4 separate regions of the Homo sapiens genome follow, and all the other regions are linked to region 1. The links are contacts of gene promoters, found by promoter capture Hi-C in blood cells and fetal thymus (Javierre and others, 2016). All regions are on one chromosome and are shown on one strand. The core of a region is centred on a gene start or on the middle of the fragment in contact, and the rest is flanking DNA. Distances in the headings are between cores, read along the strand shown.

The links. The method cuts DNA at HindIII sites, captures the fragments that hold promoters and counts their contacts. A CHiCAGO score of 5 or more calls a contact.
Region 2: a fragment that was not itself captured here is called in contact with the fragment with the promoter of SSX2IP in region 1 in 2 of 17 cell types (erythroblasts and fetal thymus); the score reaches 5.9 in erythroblasts.
Region 3: a contact is called between a fragment that was not itself captured here and the fragment with the promoter of SSX2IP in region 1, in 1 of 17 cell types (monocytes). The highest score is 5.6, in monocytes.
Region 4: a contact is called between a fragment that was not itself captured here and the fragment with the promoter of SSX2IP in region 1, in 1 of 17 cell types (total CD4 T cells). The highest score is 5.9, in total CD4 T cells.

Annotation. Positions count from the first base shown.
Region 1 is chr1:84,688,377-84,692,591 of GRCh38, reverse strand. It overlaps SSX2IP (SSX family member 2 interacting protein), which reads left to right and starts at 2,131. Exons shown (of 14, transcript NM_001166293.2): 1 at 2,131-2,221. RefSeq lists a silencer at 1,920-2,679. The HindIII fragment of the contact is 1,864 bases long and covers 1,659-3,522 here.
Region 2 is chr1:84,284,870-84,289,225 of GRCh38, reverse strand. No RefSeq gene overlaps it. Among named protein-coding and RNA genes, the nearest start is that of SAMD13, 15 kb to the left of the region's middle. RefSeq lists a silencer at 1,493-1,693. The HindIII fragment of the contact is 854 bases long and covers 2,386-3,239 here.
Region 3 is chr1:84,427,108-84,431,199 of GRCh38, reverse strand. No RefSeq gene overlaps it. Among named protein-coding and RNA genes, the nearest start is that of DNASE2B, 31 kb to the right of the region's middle. The HindIII fragment of the contact is 3,256 bases long and covers 1,077-4,092 here.
Region 4 is chr1:84,203,479-84,207,782 of GRCh38, reverse strand. The region is part of intron 8 of PRKACB (protein kinase cAMP-activated catalytic subunit beta); the gene reads right to left. Among named protein-coding and RNA genes, the nearest start is that of PRKACB, 61 kb to the right of the region's middle. The HindIII fragment of the contact is 2,581 bases long and covers 1,270-3,850 here.

The DNA of each region.
Region 1 (4,215 bases), core at 882-3,381:
AGGGTTGAGCAACAAACCTTTATTAAAAAAAAATACAGTGCCTGTAAAGTGCAATAAATTGAAGTATAAAACGAGGTACGCATGTATTTTTCTTGCTTTTCTCTCGTGGTTGCAGAATATGCTGCCACAGCTCCAAACATGTCTGGCTTACTGGAGGATGTCCAAGGCAAGAAGGAAAAAACTTGTCCTTAGTCTGTCAGGATAAAATCCTTCCCCTGAAGCTCCTCATCCCCCACTCCCCATTATGGACTGAGCAGAATTAGGTCATATTTTTAGCCCCTTAACCAGTTATTGGTTAACAAAGAGGGACAGAGTACAAAGAGGTTTAGACCAGTGGTTTTCAAAGATCTGCTGAACCTTGGGGCGGCAAGTTTCCAAGACCCTTCCAGGGAGTCTGCAAAGTCAAAACTATTTTTGTTATAATACTAAGATATTATTTGCCTTTTTCCCTCTCATTATGAGTGCACAGTAGAGTTTTCCAGACGCTACCTGAAATAGCACAACAGATCGAATGCACAAACAGATATGAAAATCCAAATGCCTTCTATTAAGCAAGACATTAAAGATATGGGCAAAATTTTAAAGTAACACCATTCTTTTAACTAATTTTTTGAAAATAGTTATTTTTAATTAAAATGCGCTATTTGACATTTTTATTTTTATTCATTATTATTTTAAAAAATAGCAATTTTTAAATTTCTGTTTTAATATTAATAGCTGTAACCAACATAAAGAAAAGTTCTTGGGGCTCTCAATAATTTTACAAGTGGAAAGCGGTCTTGAGACCAAAAGATTGAGACCGCTGGTTTATTCAGGCAGATCTTATTCCTTTCCCGGGGTTGCTGAGGTCAGAGCTAAACTTCCCAGAGCTCAACTAAGCTTGGTTCAAACCTTTTAAAAATGTAACTGTTAATGGTAACGCCACCTGGGCTCAACAGCAGCTAGACGGGCCTCTGATTGCTTGGCCAAAGGAAAAGAGGAGGATTTCGTTGGGCCCTGAAGTTGTCACCGTGGCGTGCTTCTTCTGGCCCTGATCTTTCATCCAGGATTGGGGATACGTGCATGCAAACTGGGAGGTGGACATTCCTCCCGCTCTTGTTTTTCAGTGTTAGCATCTTCACTCATACTGTTTTGGTTTCAAAGTGCTCTCAGGAGTCTCCTTAAAACACCAAACCTGTTTTTCGCCTTTTGAATAAATCCCTTGGCTTCACCAAAACTAAACAAAACAAAAATCAAAGAACATCTTTGTGTAACCTATATGCCTGTGATTTCTCCATCTGATCTCCTTTCTCTGGCCTCTTTTCTTTTCTTCCCCAGTGAATTTTAGGCTGCCATGAAACCAGGGAGGAGACAGCCTGACCCTGGCCACGGGTGCAGCAGGCATACATTTTCATCGCACATACTTTGTCGAGTGGGTGTAAGACATTTTTGCATAAACTGAGTTCACGAATGCTATTTCTTAGTCTTTCCTTTGCCCGCGGTCTTCTGCCCAGATCCATTTCTTCGCCCTAATTTTACATATAACTTTCTCCCGGCTGGATTGTTTGCATCCACGACTCCCGACGCTTGAACCTCCCGTTCCTTGGACCTGACCTAATTCTAGGTGCCCGCAGTTTATTTCTCCACTTTGGCAAACGCACGTGGCTCTCCTGGAAGCTTCACTTTTGCTGCTAGGCTGGGTGTTGGGGTTCAGTGGGGCTCGGAAAACGTGCTCTAAAGTAGCCACGACCCCGGTCCCTGCAGAGTCCCGGCCCCCACAGAGCCCCGGCCCCGGACGCTGCAGGCGTCAGAAGGGGGCGGGGAGCAGAAAACGGCCGGGTGAATCACTGGGCGTAACAGGTGCCGCAGCCGCAGCTGCGCCCGCAGCGCGCGCGGACCGCAGGGATAAGGTCTTCTTTTTCTCCGGGTTTTTTTGGAGGTAAGGAGGAGACTACCGAGGCCCCCACCCGACCAATGCAGGCCACGGTTGTTCATCGCCTAGCAACTGGCGGAGCCAATGGGAGGCGGCGGGGCCTGCGGCGCCGGCGCGCGGGGGCGGGGTGGGAACCTCGGAAACCTGCGGAGGCCGGGAGGCGGCTGCAAGGGGCGGGGAAGGCGGGAGCCCGCAGCGGAGGAGGGGCCGCGGGCGGGAGGCGCTGCGAGGCGCTGCTGGCCCTCGGGCTGCGGGAGCCGGGCTAGGACGCCGAGCGGTGACTCCCCGCCGCTCCCGGGGGCCGTGACGGTGAGCAGCAGCGCCTCGCGTCGGGGATTGTGACGCGCCCCGCCAGGGAGGGGCGGGCGGGGGTGGGCGCCGGCAAGGGGCGGGCGCGCGCGGAGGTGAGAGCCGGCACCTGGCTCAGCGCCCCGTTGTTCGGCGGGAGGCTCCGCGCGGCTGTTGGGGCCGTTGCAGGGTGCGGGCGAGCGTCGACCCGGGCCGCTCCTGGAGGAGGAGGTGGGAGGTAGGTGCTGGCCCCGGGACCGCTCTCGCTGGCGTTCGCGGAGCTGCGCCTGCGGAGCGCTCTGACCCGGGGAGCCCCAAACCCTCTCTGGGATGGAGCAAGGTTGGCGCCCGGCGTTGGGGGACGAGCAGCGCGGGGACGTGGGGGAGGAGGGGATGGCCGATTTGGGGCTGCAGAGTCTCAGCAGCGGCCGTGGGGCATGCGGGGTTTGGCGATTTGCTAGTGCAGCCGCAAGAGGCAGTCTTTAAAACGAGTTATTGGGTGGCCGCTGCAGTGGAAGAGAACCCCGATAGTGGTCTAGTAAAAAGTCTAGGGGAAGAATTTACATCATCCAAGAGGCAGGCATGTGTGAAAATACTTTGGTTTATAATTTTATCATGAAAATACTTTGGTTTAGAATTTTATAGTCAACGACAGTAAACTGAATTGTGAGCTCCCTGCACATTTTTTGAGCCTATGCTGATTGCCCAGTTAGGCATATCGCTTGGGCCCAGGACATAGAATATACTAATTTGCTGTCTGCACGTATAATGTAGGAATTTTTAGATTATTACCCAGTTTCAGGACCCATAGTTGTAAATGCCAAACTGCGATTACTAGCAACGCTGATAAAGTTCTTGAATCTGAGAGAATTGAGATTTCTCTTTTCTGGACGCTGTAATAGGTTGAGGATTAGAAAAGAAGGTGATTTAGAAGTGTAAGGGTGGAGGCTTCTTGAACTTCCTGGGCTTTCTAACAATTCAGATTAGAGTCAAGGTGTAGAGTTAGCTGTGGGTGATGGATGTCATGGACCTTTTCATGGTTCATGGGGGTTTGGCTTACTGTGGGGTAGAAGAAAATTCTGGTGATCCTACAGTTTGATCCTGAACTAGAAAGGTTGGTATGAGTTGACTCATTTAGGAGAGTGAATAAAATTTGTAAAGAATTAGAAATTTGGAGAGGAAAGAAATGCCTTTAAAGTTCACGTCAAGCTATTTTGAAATTTAGAAGTTAGAGGTAGATTTATGAATTTGGATCCAGTCGGCAAAACTTGATCCATCAGATCTCTTATCCTAAAACTATCAACCTACAGGCTTAGGAAGCTTAGGTTATTCATTCACACTAAACAAGTAAGGAAAGCTAATAGCTAATTTAACACTCTGTTCTGCCTGCTGTTAATGAAGGTTTCTCAAACAAAACGGTTCTTTGAGAAGAGGGTTAGGAACTGATAATTAAAACGAAGGCTCTTTTAGTGACTGGCTGAACCTCTTAGGCCAAGTCATTTTGTACTCTTCCTTCCCTTCTCTTTCCCCAACTGTACAGGGAAGATAAAAAGCTCATGGATTACGTAACATGGGTGAGGCAGCTTGAAGATAACTGTGAAGACTTAGTTATTCTAGGATGAAATGTGGAGATCTCATAACACATTGTGCCTTGTGACAAGACTTGTTAAAGCACATTATGTTCTAAACATAATGAGGCAGATATATGAGAAAACTAAAATGTTACGCTGAAATTGTTTGCTAAAGACCTCAAGTCCAGCACAGTGTCCAATTGTATACTTGGGATCTCCTAGTACTTGACAGTCTGCTTTTTGGCCAAAGCAGGCCGTGACACCGGTTTTATAAAGTAGGCGTTTGAGTGCCTTTTATGTAGTATACCCCTAGAGAAATTAGGTGCATGAAAAGACACCGCCCCCAAATTGTGTGATTTTAATTCATTTAACATGCTTAAATTGGATCGATTTCAAAGATTTTTAAGTTATTTTTTCCATATCTTTTACAATAGCTGTGAATAT
Region 2 (4,356 bases), core at 1,563-4,062, 400 kb after region 1:
AGTATGTTAGTTTTTGTACAAGTCTTTATAGGCCAAGACTGATACCTTACCAAGAAGAGGGCTTAGAGGAGAAGAGCTAGTCTGGTCAAGGAAAATATTTGTCATTAGTTATTTATTGCTGTGTAACAAACTACCCCAAAACTTAGCAGCTTCTAACAACACACACTTATTATCTCACACTTTCTGTGGGTCAGGAGTCCTGGTGTGGCTTAGTTGAATCCTCTGCTTCAGGGTCTCTCACACGGCTGCAATCAAGGTAATGGACAGGGCTCTTCTCTCCTGAAGGCTAGATTTGGGGAGGATCTGCTTTCTTACCTATATGGTTGGAGGCAGGATTTGGTTCCTTATGGGCTGCTCAACTGAAGTCCTCAGTTTTTGTCACATGGGCTTCTCCATAGGGTAGCTCACAACATGGCAGCTGGCTTTATCAAAACAAGTGATATGTGGGGAAAAGTCAGAGTAAGAGTGTAAGCAAGACAGAAGTCCTAGCCTTCTATAGCCCAACTTCAGAAGGGAAATCCTATCACTTTTGCCACATTCTTTTTGGTAAGGGCAAGTCATTAGGTCTAGACTAACACAAAGGCATGAATGCCAGGAAGTGGGGACAATTGGGAGCTGTTTAAGAAGGCTACCTGCCACACTCTAGCAATTGGGGAGTTGTAAAGTCTGTTTTAAATAATATGCTTACATTTTTATTTTTCAATTAACTTTAGAAATGCAATGATGATGAAATGATGAAATCAGTCTACTTAACTTCTCTCTTTTCTCTTCCCACCTCTTAGTTTGGAAAGCAAATATGATTCTTGTTCCAGTCTATTGTCATCAAAATATTATGATTTATATTATGTATTTTTTTAGTATTAAAACAACTATATTTAATTTTATGACTTAAAATGCCAATTACTTAAATATGTGTAGTAGACTTAAAGCTCACGGCTTAACCTTTTGTACATCATGACTTTCTCATTCATGAATTTTATTTTATGGTTACTTATCTGTTTATTGTCTTAATTTTTTTTCCTGACAGATTTTTCAGAGGTGCATAAATGCTATTTTTCTTGAATTCTTGCATATTTGAGAATTTATTTCTGTCATGATTACACATGAAGGTGGTTAGACCAGATAAGTATCGGGGGAACCAGCCCCCAATATTTCAATGTAGGTTCTTTTCTATTTTCCCTAAGTGTCGGCCGGTCTAAGAAATAAAGGGAAAGAGCACAAAAGAGAGAAATTTTAAAGCTGGGTGTCCGGGGGTTACATCACAGGTCATCAGGTTCCGTGATGCCCCCAAGCCAAAAAACCAGCAAGTTTTTATTATGGATTTCAAAAGGGGAGCGGGGTACAAATAGAGTATGGGTCACAGAGATCACATGCTTCAAGGGCAATAAAATATCACAAGGCAAATGGGGGCAGAGTGAGATCACAGGACCAGGGAGAAATTAGAATTGCTGATGAAGTTTCATGTCCCACTGGGCACGCATTGTCATTGATAACATCTTATCAGGAGACAAGTTTTGAGAGCAGACAACTGGTCTGACTAAAATTTACTAGGCAGGAATTTCCTAATCCTAATAAGCCTGAGGGCACTGCAGGAGACCGGGGCTTATTTCATCCCTTATCTACAACTGTATAAGACAGACACTCCCAGAGTGGCCATTTTAGAGACCTCCCCCTAGGAATGCATTCTCTTTCTCAGAGCTGTTCCTTGCTGAGAGAAAGAATTCAGACATATTTCTCCTATTCACTTTTGTAAGAAGAGAAATATGACTCTGTTCTGTCTGGCCCAGCAGGCAGTCAGGCCCAGTGGTTATCTCCCTTGTTCCCTGAAAATCGCAGCCATGCTGGTCCTTTTGGATGCCCAGATTTCATATTGTTCAAACACACATGCTCTACAAACAATTTGTGCAGATAACGCAATCATCACAGGATCCTGAGGCGACATACATCCTCAGTTTACGAAGATGACAGCATTAAGAGATTAAAATAAAGACAGGCCTAGGAAATTATAAGAGTATTGACTGGGGAAGTGATAAATGTCCAAGAAATCTTCACAATTTATGTTCAGCGATTGCAGTAAAGACAGGCATAAGAAATTATAAAAGTATTAATTTGGAGAATGAATAAATGTCCATGAAATCTTCACAGTTTATGTTCTTCTGCCATGGCTTCAGCTGGTCCCTTCATTCAGGGTCCCTGACTTCCTGCAACAGATATGGAATGTTTTTTCTTCCTATGTTTGTTAGCCATTGCTCCATTTTCTTCTAACATTTAACATTGCTTAGAATATGCCTGATTCCTTTGTTTATGAAGATGACCTTTTTCCTTCTGCCTAGATGACTATAGGATTCTATTTCTTTTAGTCCTTAAAGTTCTAGAAAGAAAGCTTTTATTAAATTTGATTGGAATATGGTGAGCCTTTTCAAAATTCAATTTGAAAACTTACTTTAGTTCATAACATTCTTCTATTGTGTAATTTTTCATTTCCATTTGCTCATTCACATCTTCAAAGATAAAAGTCACTCATGTTTTAGTTCTCCATTGTCCATGGTCTACAACTTTCATCTTCTTTCTGATCACCTTCATTCCATGTCATTTTCCACCAAATTCCATGTGATTATTTTCTTCAATAGCTTCCTCTTCATGTCCAATTTTCTGCCGTTTAAATTCTCTTCCTTGGTACTTTTAATGTGATTTTCAGTTATTTAATTTCTTCTCATTTGATTCCTCTGCTTTTCTAGATTTCTCTTATTTTTACTGTTGCATGGGTTCTGTGATTTTTTTTTTCTAGATTAAAAAAAAAAACTACCTAAACTCTTTGAAGGAAGTCGATGAGATCTAGTTGATTTGCTTAAGAATAAAGGGAGTGATTTTCCTGCTTTTCCCTCTGTTTACCTGAGTAGTGTTTGAATCATCCACTTATAATGTAAGCTGGAGCACTAATGTTGATGGCTTATAATGTTTGGTTAGTCACTCAGTGATGGATGAGCTGGGTCAGGAGGAAAATTTGCTATGAATGAGGAAGAGACTCAGGAAGAGATTCATACTTTTTTTTTTTCCTACTTATTACCCACTTTTTTCCACAAAGCATTGGGAGGGAATTGTAATAATATAAAAAGCAATTTAAAAAACTAACATCAGAAAGAAAATACCAACACAAGAGGAGAAGAAAAAAATGAAGATATGTAGCTGTAGCATCCTACAAAGTTATTAAAATTAACTTACAGTGAGATGTTTAAGCTTCCTGACAACCAAATCAAGAAGAAACGTGTAATTAGATATATGATTCTCATTGACTCTAAAAGAAAACCTAACAGTTATTCAGGGGGAAAAATTTAACACTTACTTCTAAAAAAAAATCAAATTAGGCATGATTCTTAGTGAATTTTATTTAGTGAATTCAATAGTTCCATTCATTAAGTCATTTCTTCTTGCTCTGCTTGGTAAAAGGTGAAAACATGGCATCAAAACACAGCCCAGAGAAAGTCAATTCCTGTATTTCTAAGACAGTAGGATCCAGGCTTATTTGGAAGATAAAATATCTCTGGAAGAACAGATAGTGTTAATGGATTGAATCATTTTCCTCAAAAAGATATAACCCCCAGAACCTCAGAACGTGACCTTATTTGGAAATAGAGTCATAACATATGTAATTAGTTAAAATTAGTCCATATTGGAGTAGGGTGGACACTAATCCAGCAAGACTGGTGTCCTTGTAAAAAAGGAGAGATAAATAAAAGAATGCCATGTGAAGACAGAGAGACACAGAGGGAAGACAGAAGCAGGAATTGAAGTTGTGCTGCCACAAGGAAAGGAAGACCAGGGGCTACAAGAAGCTGGAAGAGGCAAGGAGAGATCTTCCTCGAGAAGCTTCAGAGGGAGTGCTGCCCTGCCAGCCCCTTTATTTCAGAATTCTGGCCTTCAGACTGGGAGAGAATAAATTTCTGTTGTTTTAAGCCACCCAGTTTGTGGTACTTTATTACAGCAGCCTTAGGAAACTAATACAGATAAACTGCATTTCAGTCAACAATGTTTTATAAATGTTAGCTCTCTCAATCAAGATTTGGTATGTGCTGGACAGTAGAAAGTTTGATAAGTGACTAAAGTAAGTTTTATGTGCTGATATTGAGGATAGATCCATATGCTTTAAATTTTAAACCTGCAAATATTGCTAAGGTTGACATCCTTGAGAACATTGGGACACCTGAGGTTCACACTTGGGCTGTTAGTCATCACACTACATGTGGGGAAGGGCCAAGTGTATACTTTAAAACAAGTCCAGGGTTATTGCTGCTGCTTCTTCTTCCTCTTCTTCTTCTTCTTCTTCCTCTTCTTCCTCCTCCTCCTCTTCCTCCTCCT
Region 3 (4,092 bases), core at 1,455-3,954, 260 kb after region 1:
ACTCTCAGTGCAACAACTTGGGGTAACCTGGATAAATGTAGTCCCAGCTACTCGGGAGGCTGAGGCAGGAGAATGGCGTGAACCCGGGAGGCGGAGCTTGCAGTGAGCCGAGATAGTGCCACTGCACTCCAGCCTGGGCGACAGAGTGAGACTCAGTCTCAAAAAAAAAAAAAATTATGTTTTAAAGGCATCAAGTTTCTGTGGAAGCATGTGGATTAGATGAACCAAAATTCCAGATAGAGTAGAATCCTTGCCAAAGTGAGCTGACACTATCTTATATTTTTTCACCAGATATATGCCAATCCTGAGTGTGGGTTGAAGGATTTGCCTACACAGAGAATCTCTGCTGGGACAAAGAAAAACCAGTAAAGTTCTTGACAGTTATAAAGGGATGACGTGACAAATAGGAAGAAGGCAACTCAAACACATGACTGATTTTCCCGTAACATATTTGCTGAATTCTGGTACTGCACAGAGGGATATGAAACTAGGGCAAGAACTTTTAAAAGAGTGAAATCTATCTCTCATTGTCTTGTGATGCTTAGGAAACAGGTCCCCTGGAGACCTTCCCTTACATACACCTCCAGTTTTTTCTTAAGACATTTGCCAAGTATTGAAGCTATGAGGGACAGAGGGCTAAAGATCTAGGCTGGAACTTCTGAAGGACAGAGCTGGATCTCCTGCAGTCTTTCAGGGCTGAGGAGATGAAGACTCCAGGGCTCACAATCACAAGCCCAGAAGGAACATGCTCTAGAATAGGAGCAAATTAGAGGTAGAGAAAGTCTTAATAAAAATGCAGCTCACACTCAACACAGTTTCTCGTTGTATCAATTTCTCATGTAATCAAAAGGACCAACTCCTTACCCTCTCTGCCTAACAGAGGAAAGGGAGAACCCTCTCTGTAGAAGATAGCATTTGGAATCTTCACATTTTTTTATACCCTATGTCTGACACATAATAAAAAACTAGTAGATATGGGACAAGGCAATAAAATGTGGCCAGTAATAAAGAGAAAAGGCAGGCAATAGAAGCAGACTCATAGATGATCTGGATATTAAAGCCAATAGACAAAAGCTTTAGAGCATAAGGCAGAGGCCAACAAAAGAACCAACACTTCCAATATAGACTAATAATTATTTATGGTTGAGTGATGGTTTGTAGGGGGCTGTCCTCAGTTGGGAGAAATTTTCCTGTTTCTCTTGTCCTTATTGAGGGAGGGGCATTGGTAAGAATAGAGGAGAAGTGGTCCTTGGACTGTACACCAGGACCAGGCCTTGTGGCCTAGACTGTGAGTGAGAGTAAATCTTCCAGAGTTCCAAAAGAGTGGTAGTGAGGCAGATTGGGAGAGCTGGGTAACCAAGTCTCAAATACCAAAGAGGAGCAAAGAAGCAGAGGCAAAACGTCCAGGAATCAAAGAGAACTGATGCATGAAGGTGGAGACTAAAGACATTTCCTGATTCAAAACACAGATAAAGCAGCACATAGGAGGCAAGCTGGAGGGAATAGATTTGAGATGTTAACGAGGCACAATCAAGCGGTGGTGGTGATTGTTTGGATGAATGAATGAATGAATGAATGAAAAAAAAAGTCCATATGTCTCCAAAGCAGGGTTACTGGATTAATGGTTCCCAGAAAGGGAAACTCAAGGAGGGGCTGTTCTGATGAGCAGATAGGAGTCATGGATATGGTATGTTTTCAGTGTCATCTAGGTGGAGGTATTTACTACACGGTTTTTCACATCCACATGCATGTGCATGCAGACACACACACCCCCAGTGAGAACTTTGTCAGAAATATAATATGGGTGCCATCATGATAGTGGATAAGATTGCCCAGGGAAAATATTTCAAGTGAGAAGAGATCCAAAGATAAAACCTAGAGAAGTATTGACATTTAGAGTTCAGACAGAGAAAGAGAAACTTGAAAGGAGACCCAGGTAAGTCAGAGGAAGAAATAAAATAAGGTAAAGCAGAATCTCAGGGATGTGGAGGAGAGTCTGGCTTAAGAAAGGGACACAGGCCAATGGGCAAAGGATACAAACAAATCTTTTTTTTTCTTTTTTTAAAGCACTGGAAATTAGCAAGACAAGAGTCATTGGAGAGGTGGCCACAAGATTGAGAGCTTTTCCTACAAGTTTGATTGTGAAGGGAAAGAGAGGTATAGGTCAGTTCTAGGATAGGGTGTGGTGCTATAGAACCCAGGCAGGTTTTTTGTTTGTTTTCTTTTCAAGGTGGGAGAGCCTTGAACATGTTTATGTGGTAAAGAGAAAGATCTAATAAAGAGCAAGTGGCCGAAGAAGTGGGAGGAGATAAATAATGGTGTCAAGTCCTGGAAGAAGTAGGAAGATATGAGATCTATTTAATAAAATAACCAGTGGTGAGATTCGATTAAAAAATACACACTGTGTGGCCATGTGTGCATGTGTGAATGTATATATGTGTGTATAATATACTTATATATCAATAAGAACATATAAGTAAAAATCAATTCTTTCTGGATGGGGATTTTTAATAATGTAGTCTATCTAATATATTAAGTGGTGGTACTATTAATTGTCAACATATTATAACCTAAACTTAAATGCCAATTTAAAAATTTTATTTTAGAAAGTGATTTTTCCAAAATGTTTTACGTAGTATGTTGCCTTCTTAAATGAAATATTCGGAACACAATTTGACCTTTTCTCGATGACTCACTTTGAACATCAATCATTGTTCAATTCTGTAATACTGCCATGCCCTCAGGAGCCACTAAGGTCCACAGGGCCGTTCACCCAATGTTAAATGGCTCCAGACAGCTGTGCTGTTAAGAGTTCTTCTGTCTTTCCACCCTGTCATTTGTCACTTCTCTGCTGTTGTCATTGTTTGCCAAGGCATCCTGCTGCTTTTTCTTTTTCTGTTTTTTTTTTTTTTTTTTTTTTTTGAGACAGAACTGTGCTTTGTCGCCCAAGATGGGAGTACAATGGCGTGATCATGGCTCACTGTAGCCTCAATGACCTGGACTCCAGTCCTGCCTTAACCTCCCAAGTAACTGGAACTACAGGCATGCACCACCATACCCAGCTGGTTTAAAATTTTTTGGTTTTTTTTTTGTAGAGACAAGGTCTCACTATGTTGCCCAGGCTGATCTTAAACTCCTGGGCTCAAACCATCCTCCTGCCTTGGCTTAAGACTTCCTGCTTCTTATATGTTGCCTTCACTCTGTATAAACCTGCTGAGTGAAGACCAAAGAGCAGCTGCAGCCATTCCTAAAGTGCAGACACAGACACAGGGACAACTTGTTCAGCCACTCGGGTGTCTTTTTGCAGAGCCCTGATGGGAAGATGGTTGGACTGGCCTGCCTCCGTTCCTACTGGGCCGAGGAATGGACTGAGGTTGGCTGCAAGTCTGACTTTTTGGATATAGGGAAACAACTGGCTTGCAGCATGTACCAGTCTCTCCTTGGTCACCAGACACTGCTCCATCTCACAGAGGTGTGTAGACCTGAGTCATCAGGAGACTGGTTAAACCCTTATCTGCATATGGTCGTGAGCTACTGGATATTACAGTAAATTAGTCATGAAATCTGACCAGTGTTTTGTTTTTGTTTTTCTGATGGTGGGGACAAATTATTTTGCCTGTGGCAAAAGTAGCTGGATTTTTATAGCTCCTTTTCCTGCTCTCTAGGACCAGCTACCCCAGAGACAAATTGTCCCATTGTTAAAATCTTTGTCTAACACCTCTGGGAGGAAAAACTACCTCCCTGGCTCATACATCAAAGTGTGGGATTGCCATTTTCTTCCTTTGCCCCTTACCTCTCGCTCATCATTTGGCTGATCCAGAGTGGCCGAGACCAGCTCTATCTCTAAAGTCAGAGCTCACAGCCCACTCATGAATCAGCAATCTTTTCACCCAAAATGAAAACAAAAGGAAGCAGTCCCCTTTCCAGAAGGTTGTAGATATATGACATTGATATCAATCTATTATTTAGGATAACCATTTAAATTATACCTCTCCTTCAATTCTGTTTTTTTTTTTTTTTTTTTTTTTTTTTGAGATGGAGTCTTGTTCTGTTGCCCAGGCTGGAGTGCAGTGTTGCGGTCTCGGCTCACTG
Region 4 (4,304 bases), core at 1,311-3,810, 490 kb after region 1:
TTCGAAAGGAGGGAAAAATCTTACTGCTATTCTGCAATTATTGGCAGGAGAAATGATCATTTAACTAGTAACATTATCTTTTATGAATCAGGATAAAATTATTAGGCTTACATGACTCAAAAGGGTTTATATACAGCCAAGAAGCAATAATCTACTAACTACTGGCTACGAGCATGTTGAGATAAATTTTAACAAATTATTTATAAATTAGGTACAGTAAGTTCTCAAAATATCTGCAATCCCAGTAAAGAATTGATTGATCAAAAATGAACATACACATTAGACAATTTTTCAACAGGCATAATAACTTTTCATACGCTAGGCATGTTATAGATATGGTGCCGAGTTCCACACTACCTCATAAGACCTGGGCATCTTTAATCAGCCTGGATTCTATATGTGAAAAGAAAGAGCTAAGACATTAAAAATATTTATAAATATTGGTACTGCATCTGTGGGCTCTCTAATCTGTTCCCTTACCTATGCAGAAACAGTGGTAGATATAATGAGTCTACAAGGTTGCAGAGGATTATGATCCACCCCATTCTCCCTCCCCCTGCTCTCACATAAGAAGCCAGTTTTGCAATTATTTGCTCATAGGACCACAAGAGCTGTCAGAAAGAAGGTATTAATAAGAATTTTAAATAGCCACAGTGAAGTGTTTAAAACTGGCCCTGGGTTTTATGAAAAGAGTAAAACTGCTTTTGTGTTTTATGAAAATGATTTCTGAATACTTCTAAGTCTCTTTAACTATGGCCATAGCAAAATAGTAAATGACATTGTAATTTCCCCAAAAGCATTAACAATAGTATCTTAGAAAAAGTATAGTGGAATATCTGCATATGTGTATGTTATTTAGGAAACCGAATGTGTGTAGAAAAGACTTAACATAGTAGGCCTGAGACTGCTACCCTTAGAAAGAACTGCTTACAAGTTTGGCCCTTGAGAGATGTCTGGCAACTTGAATAGTACCAGTGCCCTTATACCAACATGAAACTTTCCCTAAAGGATTAGAGTGGCTCACTGTGCCTACACTGTTGGTACAAACAACATAGTTTATTCTGAACAACTACTTTTGTTCTGGGAGGCTGGGATTTTGGCATGTGCTAGGCAGAGGGTGCATATGTGACCAACCCCCAATGAAAACTTTGGGCATTGAGTATTTAATGAGTGTTGCTGGTAGATAAAATTTCACGCTTGTCACAGCTTGTTGCTGAAGGAATTATGTGCATCCCTTGTGAATGCCCTGGGAGAGGACTCTTGAAAGCTTGTGCCTGGTGTCTTCTGGACTTTTGCTATCTTCACTTTGTACCCTTTTGTTGTAATAAATCTTAGCCTCAAGTACCACTGTATGCTGAATCTTGTTGAGTCCTCCTGGTGAATCATCAAACCTGGAGACAGTCTTGGGGACTCCTGAGACAGAAAGGAATAGCAATTGGGCTGATAATCAATTACCCTTCATGTAAATATTGAATTTCCCTTCAGGAAAAATTAACCAACTCTTTGATCATTCAGTATATACTTATGTTTATACTTCTCTATGTTGCATGTCTCCTTATATATTGTTACTCATTAGGAGTGGAACAATATTTACATTAGATATGTTGAAGCTAAGAATTTTTTTAAATTACATAAGCCAAGGGCTCTAAAGTTATGGTTTCCATAGTAGCTGTTACTTGAGTACCTTATTTGCAAGTATAATTTTTGACTGCAATATAAACTTTCTATATTTCCATGGGTAACGCAGCCAGACAAAGGTGCTATAGAGACCATAACTGATTCTTGTCATGGAGTACATGACACTGAGACATGAAATTTAAAGACTACATACAGAAACTCAGCATATGTATTGTTAGGATGAGGCATAGTTAATGCAGGAATCATAAATCTTTTCTTTCAACTATGAATTTGTAGACTCAAACCTTAACATTGCATGAATAATGTGACATTTAAATACCACCTCCTCTGTTTTTTTAAAGGCAAAATATGTGTAGGAGAGAATCTAACAAGTTGATTGATCATCTTTGTGTGCATTTAAAAATACCAGCTTGAGTTAAAATATTGTAATAGAGAAAGTATTTTACAATCTAATATTCATATATATGTACTTTAGTGAATTTATCACTTAATTAATAAATTTAACTTTGATAAGTCATTGATACCTATAATCTTTATAACGTGACTTCAGAATGGTGGATATAATCAATATAAGATGCTGTTTCATAAAATAATATGCTTCTAAAATCAACAAAAACAATTCTGAATGAAAAGCATATTCTTAAATGATATATCATTAAAACCATTAAAAGTTCAAATGCAAATATAAATATAAGGATCCACAAATATAAGACCAAATTGGATTTTTAATAATTTGCACAATTTAAAAAATTTAAAAAACTAGTTAGTTTCCAATTTGGCTTTTAGCCACTAACCAGAGAGACAATAATATTTTTGCAATGTGAATAGAGACACATTCTAGTTTGAATTTGAGTTTTGAAACAGATGATTTATTGGGAAATGGTTAATACAATCTAACTTCACATAATACAGAGCCTTTTAATGGCAAAAATTCCACTTTCATGACTTCTACTTTAGATGAGTAAAGGGAGTAAGAGATGGGGATAATTTTATATCCCACATGGGGAGAGATAATCTGGTACTTTTAGTTAAAAAACAAAAGTACACCAAATATCCTGTCATATTTCTAAATAAATGAAGGGGAAAACAGAATATTGTGATATAATAAGGTTTTCTGGTGTCATTCTTCTAAGGTGCCCAGGATTTAGACTGTTATGATTTTAGAATATATGCTGATTATTAGATACAAAATTTTAAAGTTTGATATAAAATGAATATATATTCATAAACAGCTGAATATAAAATTTAACCAATAGAGAATGATTGGCAAATCGAGGCCAATGCATAAAAATGAAGACACATTAATTTTAACTAAAGCAGTTTTTCTTAATAAATGTAAATTTAGTTATGACAGTATCCTTGTTAGAAAATTGGATTTCTTATATGAATATAAATAAAAGTAATATAGTAAAGATTCAAGAACTTTATAATTACTGTCAATTAAATGATTTGAAACAATTATTATAACATTTACATTCTTAGTTTTTGTATTAGTAAAATATTCTTCTTCCATTTGTGATTTTAATGTATTTTGGTTCTCTCATCATTCTTCATATGACCTTTAGTCCTCTTGAGAGTCTACACTTCTCAAATTCTTCAAAAATAAATCACTGCCTTGTCTGTTAATTTTTCTCAAAGTTTTGTTTTGTTCATATCAAAAGTTCTGCTGGGAGAAAACAATTACAAAGATAAGAAGTCTGAAGCCAGAGATCTACAAATGTAAGAAGAACAGCAGTGATACTGATACTTGTTTAAATAAGTACTGCATTCTGCTTTTCTGTATTGCCTTTATCAGTGCACAGCATTCAACACCTAGCTAGGTTTATTTATCTGTAAGAGGTATTTATTTTTTTACCTTTGACATAGTTGGAGTATAAATTCTTTAGTCAGTCTCCTAATTTGTGAATACTGATAATAAATAAAACTTTCTACATAAAACGTGGCAAAATACAAGGGAAAATCTCATGACCCAGGTAGAGTGCATATGTACTATGAGATAGGGAACAATACTGTGCTGAAATGTATGTTCTAGGTGATTGGATAGACTAATTCTATTGGCAAATGTCTTGTTGCTACAGCCCAGCTGTGCAGCATCTATGATTTAAATTTGAGTGTTGGCAAAAAAAATAAATTACCACATTAGAGACATTCAGGGTACCTTGTGAATAGTTAACAATGGAAATTGTAAGTTGATAGATGCCAAGGGTAAGCTTTCACACTAAATGTAGAGCTTGAATATGGCTGAGATACAAAGAAATAAAGACCTTCCCTCTACTATCTCCTTCCGGCTTATCTCTGCCTAAGAAGGTCACAAAATACAAAGCAAACAAATAAAAAATAAAACAAAAAAACCTCAACTCTATAACATCTCAGGCTAATGTGATAAAGATTGATGCTCTATTTCCTGATCATATTCTAAATGGGACTATGTGGGAAAGAAAAGAAAAGACAAAGCAGTACCACATGTAGAAATAGAAAGAAGGGAAAATAAGCAAAATATCCCTTCCCATATATTTTGTCATTAATGTATAGAAGGTCTCCTTCTGGGAATGTTTAAAAGCCTATTCTTTCATTGCTGCATGGTAGGAAATTCAAGCTCATTTCTATTGAATTGACAATGGTCTTTTAAAAAAAGATCCGAGGTCTGAGCTAAGGCAACAGCAAAT